Linked DNA regions of Homo sapiens: region 2 is linked to region 1. The links are contacts of gene promoters, found by promoter capture Hi-C in blood cells and fetal thymus (Javierre and others, 2016). All regions are on one chromosome and are shown on one strand. The core of a region is centred on a gene start or on the middle of the fragment in contact, and the rest is flanking DNA. Distances in the headings are between cores, read along the strand shown. Region 1 holds the start of TPP1 (tripeptidyl peptidase 1). Region 2 overlaps FHIP1B (FHF complex subunit HOOK interacting protein 1B).

Evidence for each region. Contacts are between HindIII fragments. The CHiCAGO score rates a contact against its expected background, and 5 or more counts as called.
Region 2: a contact is called between a fragment that was not itself captured here and the fragment with the promoter of TPP1 in region 1, in 1 of 17 cell types (M2 macrophages). The highest score is 5.1, in M2 macrophages.

The regions. Positions count from the first base shown.
Region 1 is chr11:6,618,172-6,621,248 of GRCh38, reverse strand. It overlaps TPP1 (tripeptidyl peptidase 1), which reads left to right and starts at 1,827. Exons shown (of 13, transcript NM_000391.4): 1 at 1,827-1,865; 2 at 1,982-2,053; 3 at 2,334-2,473. The coding sequence starts at 1,849. RefSeq lists an enhancer at 1,457-1,506 and a silencer at 2,057-2,106. The HindIII fragment of the contact is 1,700 bases long and covers 1,384-3,077 here.
Region 2 is chr11:6,215,415-6,223,135 of GRCh38, reverse strand. FHIP1B (FHF complex subunit HOOK interacting protein 1B) reads left to right here. Exons shown (of 12, transcript NM_001098794.2): 4 at 1-56; 5 at 239-325; 6 at 527-694; 7 at 4,086-4,165; 8 at 4,373-4,536; 9 at 4,986-5,765. Among named protein-coding and RNA genes, the nearest start is that of C11orf42, 14 kb to the right of the region's middle. The HindIII fragment of the contact is 4,493 bases long and covers 2,562-7,054 here.

The sequences.
Region 1 (3,077 bases), core at 578-3,077:
GTGGTGGGGTGGGGATGGCACTGGGAGCTCAGGAGCCTAGCCTGAGGCTGATGATCACATCTCTCTGCAGCTATTCTTTTCCCTCTAATATGGGCAAAGAGGCCAGCAGGGCCTTGAGAGGGATCAGTTGGGTGGGAGAGGGGATCTTGGGGATGAGCAGCTCTGGGCCCGAAGTTCTTAAAATAAGTTGGGGTGGGTACAAGAGCAGTCAAGTGGTTTATTTGTTCTTCTTGGGGGCCACTAAAAATCCACATTGTAAAAAGAGCTCAATTTGTTGAGCCTTTGTCATGTCAGGCTCTCTGCAGGTGGCTGCCTTGCTTAATCTCAGTGTAAATTTTCACAGTCATACAAAGGGATTTGGGAACCACTGGTGTTGCCTGTTCTTTGGGGAGCCAGGCTGTGAGGGAAAGGCAATTGGCCAGTGTTTGAGAAGTTCATGAGATTGAGGAAATTAGAAAAAAAAAAAAAAGTTGTGGTCAAAGGGAAATGTTTCTGAGCATGATGCTAGTAAATACAGCTCTAGGATCCACGCTTAGTGGGAAACTGGAGGGATCAATGGACAGAGAGAAGTCAGATTAATAGGAGTGAGGAAAAACAATGGCTTGAAAAAACAGAAGGTTATAGTCTAAGAAAGCATTCTATAATTATAATTTCAAAGGTAGAGCAGTTTTGAGAGATAGCAAGCCCAATGCAGCCATGGGACTGGTTTGCTTAAGTGAAGTGAAGGTAATGCTCACTGGGTTTAATGAGATGAAGAAATGGAAGGTTAGGGTGTTGAATGGGTCTTTTACCTAGATATTTTGATCATCTAGGTCAAATGATCGCAGGAGTTGGGATGGACAGAAAGGTGAAGTGCCATAATCTTCAGTGTGGGAATATAATCTATAGGTTAATGGAAGCCAGTGGCCTGTAGGACAACAGCAGGAGTAGAGGGATCTATCTAAAAAGTATTGAGGTCAGAACAAGGGATTTCACATGAGTATTGGATTAATGGTTTTGGAAGTTAAAATGACACTGCTGACACCATCTTCCATATGGATTTTTGGGGGGAAAAAAAGGAAGACTGGAAGGGAATTGAATCCTCAGGGTTTTAACTCTCATTGAAAATCCTCTTGTAATGACCCCAGTTGGAAGTAGTAAACTCAGACCTCCTTGTGGGCTTTGAGTTACCATTAGAAGAAGCAAAGGTCCGTTTCCATTTTATCCACCTGAGCCCACTAAACAAGATGCAAGATTCCTCCATGGCCCTTAGAACAAAGTTGATTTCCTTGAAAACCTTGGGAACCCATAATAAACAGGACCCCAGCTGATTGTAGATCTCCTGGGAAGCTACTTAAAACTGGAAACTGATTTGAATAAAAGGATCCTGGTCTTGCAAAAGCTTTACTCTGTTCATAAATGTAGTCGTAAAATGAAGACAAAATTGATAATATGGGGACATAAAGGATAAAAGAGGAAAAAAATTTTTTCACTGCAATCTTTCGAGGCAGATCACTTTTATATAAGTCTCCATATTGTAAATGCAGAAACCTAGGCTCTGAGAGGTTATTTTGCTGATGTCATACAGCTAGGAAGAACCCCAGTCTGTGGGTCTCTACAGCCCACTCACTTGTGGTGATTCCCAGGGGACCAGGCTCAGGACGCAGGTGGGGAGCCCTGGGCTTACTCAGTGCTTGACTGGCCAGAGGGGAGAATCCGGGTGGCGGCCCCACCCTTGCCTAGCATTTGGGACCACCCATGCAAGGGAGGAGCCAGTACCGTCACTAGTTACTAGGCAGAGGGGTAGTGGTGGTGGAATATAGAGCTCATGTGATCCGTCACATGACAGCAGATCCGCGGAAGGGCAGAATGGGACTCCAAGCCTGGTGAGAAATTGAGAGGGCTCGGGAGAAAGGGATCACGTTGGAGGGAGCACACATTGGGAGGGTGGGAACACAAGGACAACGTAGCTCCCACTGAAACCCACCTGCTGCCCCTACAGCCTCCTAGGGCTCTTTGCCCTCATCCTCTCTGGCAAATGCAGTTACAGCCCGGAGCCCGACCAGCGGAGGACGTGAGTTGACTTAGCACAGACTGCCCCCTTCCCCATACCCTGTTCTGCCTCCCACTGTCCTGGTCCTAGCTTCTCTCACCCCCGTGCCAGCTCCTAGTACGCACTCCATAGCTTCATCTCTATGTTCCTAGCCTCAGTCCCCTATCATTCACCTCATGTGATCTGTATCTGCTCCTAGGATCCTCCCCAAGGTCTCAGCTCCTAATCTGGAACCTTCCATGACCAATATTTTCCATCTCCACCCTAACCAAAGCCATGTCCCTGACCCCTGACCCTACAGGCTGCCCCCAGGCTGGGTGTCCCTGGGCCGTGCGGACCCTGAGGAAGAGCTGAGTCTCACCTTTGCCCTGAGACAGCAGAATGTGGAAAGACTCTCGGAGCTGGTGCAGGCTGTGTCGGATCCCAGCTCTCCTCAATACGGTGCCTTTTGGGACTGAGGACAGGATGTGGGATGCGGTGGAGGGACACAGGGCTGGGTTGGGCATGGGATGGCGATCATGTCAGAGCCTGCCAAGACACTTGTGTTCCTCAGGCTAGAAACCTAAAAGGGGATGTGGTTCAGTATACAGGCTTTATGATCAAATACGAACTCAAATTCTGACTCTGCTACTTACTAGCTACCAGGCATCTAGTACAACTTACGTTCCTTCCCCTACCCTCAAATCCATTCTAATTTCCTCTTTTGTTCACATACTAAGGCTGCCAGTTCTAACTCCCAAAGAGCCTTTGGATTAATCTCCTTCTTGCCGTCTTTTGTTACGACCAACTCCGTTATTTATTCCCACTCCTGGACTACTGCCCAGCTCCCCAGCTGATCTGCAGTCTCCTCCCTCCACCCCACCCCTCACTGTACTCCCCCACTCTGCTTCAAAACAGTCTCTCCAACAGTCAAAATGGATTGGTTCCTTCTCCTGGTTAAAGCCCTTCACAGCAGGGGGAGTGTGTGCTTGTGAACTGCAGAGGCTGGGGACGGGGCAGTGTGACACTAGTGTGCATGGCAGGAAACAGTGACTCACCATCGTGT
Region 2 (7,721 bases), core at 3,559-6,058, 400 kb after region 1:
TGCCAGCCCTTGCACTCTTCATGAGTTCCCTGGAGTTCTGCAATGCAGTAATTCAGGTAGGACTGAAAGTCTGGCCCTTGGTCATTTTTGGGAGATTAGGTAGGAGGGGGTATATTCCCTGGAGTTCTGTCATTTTTCCATCTTGGAAGTAGGATGCCTCTCTGTAGTGTACTATTCTACTCCCTTCCAGGCAGTGGTCTCCTCATAACCCTCCCCCTTCTCTCTGGCACTCCTACAGGTGGCTCACCCCCTGGTGCAGAAGCAGTTGGTTGATTATATCCATAATGGGTTCCTGGTGCCTGTCATGGGTCCTGCCTTGCACAAGGTGAGAGTCATGGGTGGCAAGGCATATAAGGGGCTAAGCTGCAGTGGTAACCTCAGTGACAGGACTAACGTAGGAGGCGGTGGGTAGAGTACTCCTCCCTTTTGCCCTGTCTGCTCCTGATTTCTCTTAGAATCCAGGGAAAATGGCCCTGTATGTGCAGGGAAGCTGTGCATTTCCAGACTTTCCCTTCTTTTTGTGCAGACCTCTGTGGAGGAGATGATCGCCAGTACCGCCTATCTGGAACTTTTCCTACGGAGTATCTCAGAGCCTGCTTTGCTCCGTACCTTCCTGCGATTCCTGTTGTTGCACCGGCATGACACCCACACCATCCTCGACACCCTCGTTGCTCGTATTGGCAGTAACTCCCGGGTATGGCCCTTACCCCTGTCCTAGCTTACCTGGATGACCCATCTTCTTTCTCTGACCTTTGTTCTGGGAGGGTATTCCTGCCCTTCTTTTGCCTGTATCTCCAGCAGTCACCTCAAAATTAAGTGGCATTAACTTTCCAGCATTAAACTTTTAACCATTTTGGGTACAGATTTTAATCTACTCCCCTGCTTTTATGATAGATGAATCTAGAACACAGTCACCTTTTCTGGATGACTTTGGCTGTTCATCATGACTATAGGTTTTGCTACTGTGCAGTGTTCGTAATGTAGTATTGGCCTGAGTTCTCTTAAACTGTTTATCACTCTGTGGCCTGCTTTGGGTGACTTGAGAGCACTTTAGGTTGTGTGTCTGCTTTGGTAGGTGATCCAGGTGCTACTGATATGCTTGCCTTCTTTCTCCTTTGGATTTGCTGCTTTTGAACTATAGCTTGGAGCACTCATCCACCCACCTATCTACTTTCGGTCCTTCCTCCTAAACATTTTTACTGAATGTTCACTGTGTGCCATACTGTTTGCTGGTGCTGGGGATACAGTGATAAATAAGGTAGACATTGTTGCTGACTTCATGGAGCTTACTTTGTAGAGAAGACAGACAAGCAAACACATTAATAAGTTGTGGTCAGGGTTATGAAAAAACTAGAGTGCTTAGAAATAATAGGGTGGCCAAGGAAGACCTCTCTGAAGAGATGACATTGAACTGAGACATAGAGATTATAAAGGAGTTAACTTATTGATCAAGTAGAAGAACAGGAAAGCAAGGGGAACAGCATGCAAAGGACATCAAATGGGGGAAGAGCTTAACATGTTTGAGGAAATGAAAGACTAGAGGTGTAGTGAGCAAGGGGAAGAAGGGAATGAGATAAAAATAGAGGGGTAAAATTCAGATCATGCATGACCTGGAAGACCATGGCAAGAAGTTTGGATATTAACAAATAGAAATATATATAACATGGGAGTGGGTGGTTTCCAAGTTATAAAGACTTAAGCCCCTCTAGGAGAATAAAGCATTAATTTTGCCATGGACTTCATGGCATTTATTTTGCCTCTGGGACCATTTTTGCTTCCTTTTTTTATTATAAGTTAAAGTTTCCTGGATCCATGTGTTTAAAATAGAAGTTCTTTCATCACTAAGAGCTCTGGAAAACTTCTAGATAATGAGATACTAGATAGTAGAGTTCCAGGTCAGTTTCCTGGATAGCTGTGTTTTGTATAGGTGCAGTTTCTGAAGCTAAGTTAGGGTGTATAAGAAATATTCCAGACTGACTGATTAAACCAGTGTTTCTAAACCAAGTGTATACTTTAGAAACGTCTGTGAATCTTTGAAGATGACAACTAACAACTACAACAGATTCTGAGCTCTACCTCAGATTTCGTGAATCTTTGGGAGTAGGCTCAGGACATGTGTATTTTTAAAATTTTCCAAAAAGTAATCATGATAGATGCCTTGGGTTAAGATTTATTGGAACCAATAGGGAATAGGTATTAAAGCTTTAATTTTACAAAGATACCAAAAGTATTTTTTTTCCCTCATTATGCTGAAATTAGGCCATGATTGGCCTCATATTGTCCTGTTCATGTTTAGAGACAGTTGATTTTCTTTTTGAGGTTTTATCTGTTGTTTCTTCCTTTTGTCTTATCCTAACTTTGATTCTTACTCACTATCTTTCATTTTTTTAGTAGTTGTTTCTATTAGTCTCCCATTTGGTCCCCTGGTCTTAGGAGCCTTACATGTTCTTGGGATGTTTCTTCTTGGTTCCTGGTTCTTGGAGGAACAGATCTCTTCTAATTTCAGGATGCCCGTGTTAAACATGTAGATGCTTTCCTTTCCACTGTGGTCCTTTCAAGCTTGATTCTTTGGCTTGACTTTGTAACGTATATAGCCTGCCTTGTGTGCCTTGAAGTGACTAATTTTGGCTAACCAGCCTGTGTTAATTCCGTATTGCTGTCATAACAGATTATCAAACCTAATGCTTAAAACAGATTTATTGTCTTACAGTTTTGTAGGTCATATGTATGACCTGGATCTCGCCAGGCTAAAATCAAAATTTTGGGGGGTGGGGTCTGTGTTCCTTTCAGGAGGCCGTAGGACAGGATCCATTTCCTTATTTCTATTGGCAGAATTAATTTTCTAGCAGTTGTGGCATTGAGATCTCTGTTTTCTTGCTGGTTGACAACTGAAGAACATTCTCAGCCTGTAGAGCAACCAGATTCCTTGGCTCATGGCCCCCCTTCATCCATAGATAATAGATATCTATGGATCTCTATTATCTGTGGATATCTAGGATAATCTCATCTAGGATACTCACATCTGCGAAGTCGTCTCTGCCACGTGAGGTGAAATATTTTTAGGGTCTGGAGATTAGGATGTGAGCATCTTTGAGGGACCACTTTTCTACCCACTTACTACTTTTCAGTGAGTCTGAATTTTTTCATTGCTAGCTAAAGTGGTCATTTAGGATAGCCTCCTGAACATCCATGCTATTCAAAATGTGAACTGCTGTCACGTGTTTTTCTTGCTGTGTGGTTGACTTTTAATTCTCCCGTGGTCATGTAGCAAATAATGAATGCCTAAACTGTTCAGGTAGTGCCCTAGACCAAGACCCATTCGTTGTCTTCAGGGAGCTCAAGGTGTCTGACACACTTGCTGTAAGGGAAGTATAGAGAAAGTGCTAGGAAGATTCAGAGAAGTGAGGGAAAGGTTACATATGTGTTTTCTTTACCTAGTCAGAGATGAACCAACCTTCTTCCTTTTCTAAAATAAAAGATTTCCTCTAATCTTGACCCACCTACTTTTTCCTTTTCCTGTCAGCTGCGCTTGAGTTGTTCTTTATCCTGCCTTCTGAGAGATACACTAGTGTTAGAGAGGTGACTCAGACTTCATGTTTGCAGCCCCACCTACTTCCCAGTTGGGAATCTTCCCGGTTCCCTCTAGTTTCTTATTGGTAGGCATTCAGTTACTGTATTGCTACAGTCCCTTCTGGCAGGCATTCACTTAATTACCATGTTTCTGTTGTCTCCTGTTAGTCATTCACTCAATCACAGTATTTCTTAGTCTCTTCTCATGGATTTTCGTTCAAGTGTTGCTGGAGTCTCTGCTGACCAGGTATATATAGCTAGAGAGTCTATAGAAGTCCATTGGGTCTGAGATGCTTCATTTGTATGAATAGCAAAGTCTTGCTCGCAAAGATCGTGTGATCATCTAGCTAATACTTGAATGACTTATGTGCCAGGCATGGTACATGGTCCTCTAGGAGTTCCTCTAGGAGTGGTTGGTTGGGCCAACTTGGGGCTGGTGGGGTTCCCGTTTGGTGAATGGCTTGGAGGGCAGAGAGCTCTTATGGTGACTCCCTCCCTCCCCTCCACCCCCCCAGCTCTGCATGGTCTCTCTGAGTCTCTTCAGGACCCTCCTGAACCTCAGCTGTGAGGATGTCCTGCTGCAGCTGGTTCTCAGGTATCTGTTGGGGCAGGGCTGAGGGATGGCTGACCCTGAAGCCTCAGAGTCTTATGCATTGCTGGGGCAATGGGCTATATAGGGGTTACTCATGAGTTTCCACTTGGAGCCTGGCTTAACCATGCAGTTTCATTGGCCTGATGTTCCTCTAGGCCCTGTCCTTCCTTCCTGATCTACCCTGTGTCCCCTTTCTGATGTCTTTCTCAGGTATCTTGTTCCATGTAACCACGTTATGCTGAGCCAGAAGCCGGCTGTTCGTGATGTGGACCTATATGGACGAGCAGCTGACAAGTTTCTCTCCCTAATCCCACGCTGTTGTCGGCACCACGCCCCCAGCCCACCTCGTCCAGAGCATGCCTCATGGGCACGAGGTGGGCCTAGCAGAGAGACAGGGAGAAGGGAGGACATCACGGGTATGGCCTAGGTTCTGGGGGAGCGTAGCAAGGAGGGGCTGGGGTGAAGGGGAGGAAGGTGTCCATGAATGATAGTCTGTCTTTGGGGAGGTTGATGAGGGTGTCTTGCAGGGAGGACCCTTAACACTCACCAAAGAAAATTAGAGTGGGACTTCTGGGCAAAGCTATTCTTGTTCTTCTCTCTAGTCGTGTACTCTTCCTGTTTCCATTGTGTCTTCAGTGGTGATGGTGGTGAGTGGGGGTGGTGGATGAGGATAAGGTTAATTAGGAGGTTGGAGAGTTAGCTGTCTGAATAGATTCCATGTTTCTGCCTCCCCATTGTCTTCTTTCTTAGTCTCCCGAGGTGTCTTATCTCTCCTTCTGAACCTCTGTCTCCTTGATTTCTCTTATATTTTTTCCCTTTGCAGGTCCTGGAAGCCCAAGTGTGGACTCCTCTTCTGTGACGACAGTACCCCGGCCCTCCACACCATCTCGTCTGGCTCTCTTCCTGCGGCAGCAGAGCCTGGGTGGCTCTGAGTCTCCAGGCCCAGCCCCTTGCTCACCAGGGCTTTCTGCATCCCCCGCCTCCAGCCCTGGCCGACGGCCTACCCCTGCAGAGGAGCCTGGAGAGCTGGAAGACAATTACCTGGAGTATCTGCGTGAGGCACGTCGTGGTGTGGACCGCTGTGTCCGAGCCTGCCGTACCTGGTCTGCCCCCTATGATGGCGAGCGGCCCTCTCCTGAGCCCAGTCCTTTTGGCTCCCGGACTAAGAAACGCAGCCTACTGCCTGAGGAGGACAGGAACAACGTGGGGGAAGGGGAGGAGGAAGAGCTGGGGAGGAGGGGGCGGGCTGGGGGTGCAGGGGAGGGCCCTGGTCACCTGCCCCCTCCCCAGCTCAATGGAGTGCCAGGATCATGGCCTGAGGGGGCCAAGAAGGTTCGTCTGGTGCCAAAGGAGGGAGCTGGGGAACTGCTAGAGGGCATCTCCGAGGGCATGGCAGGACTAGAGGGCTTTGGGCAGGAGCTCCGGGAGCTAGAGGTGGCATTGAGCAATGGGGGAACTGGCTCAGAGTCCCCCTTAGAACCTCCACTGCCCCTTGAGGAGGAGGAGGCCTACGAGAGCTTCACCTGTCCCCCTGAGCCCCCTGGCCCCTTCCTCAGCAGCCCTTTGCGGACTCTCAACCAGCTGCCAAGCCAGCCCTTCACTGGTAAGCTACTTAGCCTAGGCCTTCCCTTCTGTGTACTCTTTGCATGTTCTCGACATGTTTGTGCTGGTTTCTTGGACCTCTTGGCCATGTCATTTCTGTGTACTTGCCTAGCCCCTCATCCATCCTGCTTGCATCACTTCCAGATACGTGTCATGTCATACTTGTGTCCCTGTGTCTGTCTGTACGTCTTCCATGCTTGTGCTGGTTTGAGTATTGACTTACATCTGAGCCTTGTATGTATGTCCTATGTGCATGTTCCTCCTCTTTCCCTAGTCTGGCCATTTCCTGCGATTTGTAATTAGGATATTCTGTGTTTGATGTTTCCTGGTGAATCACAGCAATATTTCTGAACCATATTGAAGACGTATGTGCTGTCCTGTATGGAGAGGCACCTAAACACTCTCTATGCCATTCCGTCCAGTTTATCTGTCTGGGTCTTGGGTTTTCTGTCAGCTCTCCTGGGGCCTAAGGTTAACCTTCTGGTATTTTTCTCCCTACTCAGCTCCTTCCTCCCCACCTCTTCAAAGAAGGACTTGATTTCAAGTTTTTCCTGTTCGCTTTCCTTGTACCTTCTTGGTTGCTGTGACTGTCTGCTAGCACTAAGACTGTCTTAAGCAGATAGAGTGCAATTTCTTTGAAGGCAAATGACAAAGCGTGGCCCTGAGCTCCCTGACTGAGTTCATTTGGACTCTCAAGGATGCCCTGGAGCTAGACTCGATCTGAGTGGTTGGACTAACTCCTCTTTGTTTTTGTATGAGAGCCAGCTTACCCCGCCATTCTAAACCTCAGGCCAGGAAAACCAAAAAACAAAAAAACCAACCAAACAAAAAACAAACCCACCTCTGAGAAGTAGTAGCTAAGGCTAAGATCACAGGCCTTGGATTAGGCATACCTTACATTAGCCTCCCATCTCTGCCATAGATGCATATAAATCATTTACTACAATTATGGCACATTGTGAGAACTCAGCAAGTGGTAGCTTTTCACTAGGATCTCTGGGTACATAGCAGATTTAAGTTGACTAAGGCAAACACTCATCTTCCAGTTGTTCATAGTCAGATTGTCATGCCTTGATAAGTTCATGTCCTGACTGGGCCTGGGAGATGCTGGCCATCCTGCTCATACAGCACCAGGGCTTCTGCCATGGAGTTGTGCCAATTCCCTCTTCTTGCCTCCTACAGAAAATCTATCTTTCCATTTATTTAGCCTCTGCTCTGTTCCTTTCAGCTCAGTACCACTAGGTGATAGCGTGCAGGTTTTACCACAGTCTTGAAGTATTAATTGAAGCTTTTGTCTTTTTTTCCTTTGGTAAACTTATCTGAGCTTTTCAATTTTTTTTTTCCAAGAAACTTCCAGGAAATGAAAGGAACAGGACAAAATTATGGGGCGTCTTAGGACTCTGTTAAGCTAGAGTTGTTTTGAAGCTAATGCTAGACATGTGCACCTGGAGTGAAAAATGTTTTAGCATCTTTTTCAGGATTCACTCCCTCCTGCCCTCCATCATTCTCCTGTCTCAATGCATAGTACAGTTCTTAGATATATACTCCCTTTCCCCAAAAAAATCCCTAATCAGAAGGACTGTGATGGTTATAGAGGCCTACTGCTGGTGATCTGGCTTAGCTGAGGTCAGTTTTCCCAGTGGATAATGCTGATCCTTTCCCTTCCTTCTCTCCCACCAAAGAGTCTGTCCTCAGTCAGTTTCTCTGCCCCTGCACTAAGCTATCCTTTTACTACATATTCTGTTCCACCGTCTTGGTTCCCAGCTTCTGAAAGACAAAACTGATGTCTTCTCTGGTCCTCCAAATATTTTTTTCCCTAACTTTAAATTGGCTCACATAGTTACTTTGTCTTTGCAACACCATCTTCTAGCTTTCTTTCTGAGCAGGTTTAGTGTTATCCTCCGTTTTTTGTGGAACCTAATTCTTTTTGGACCTAATTACTTTCTCAACCTATTTG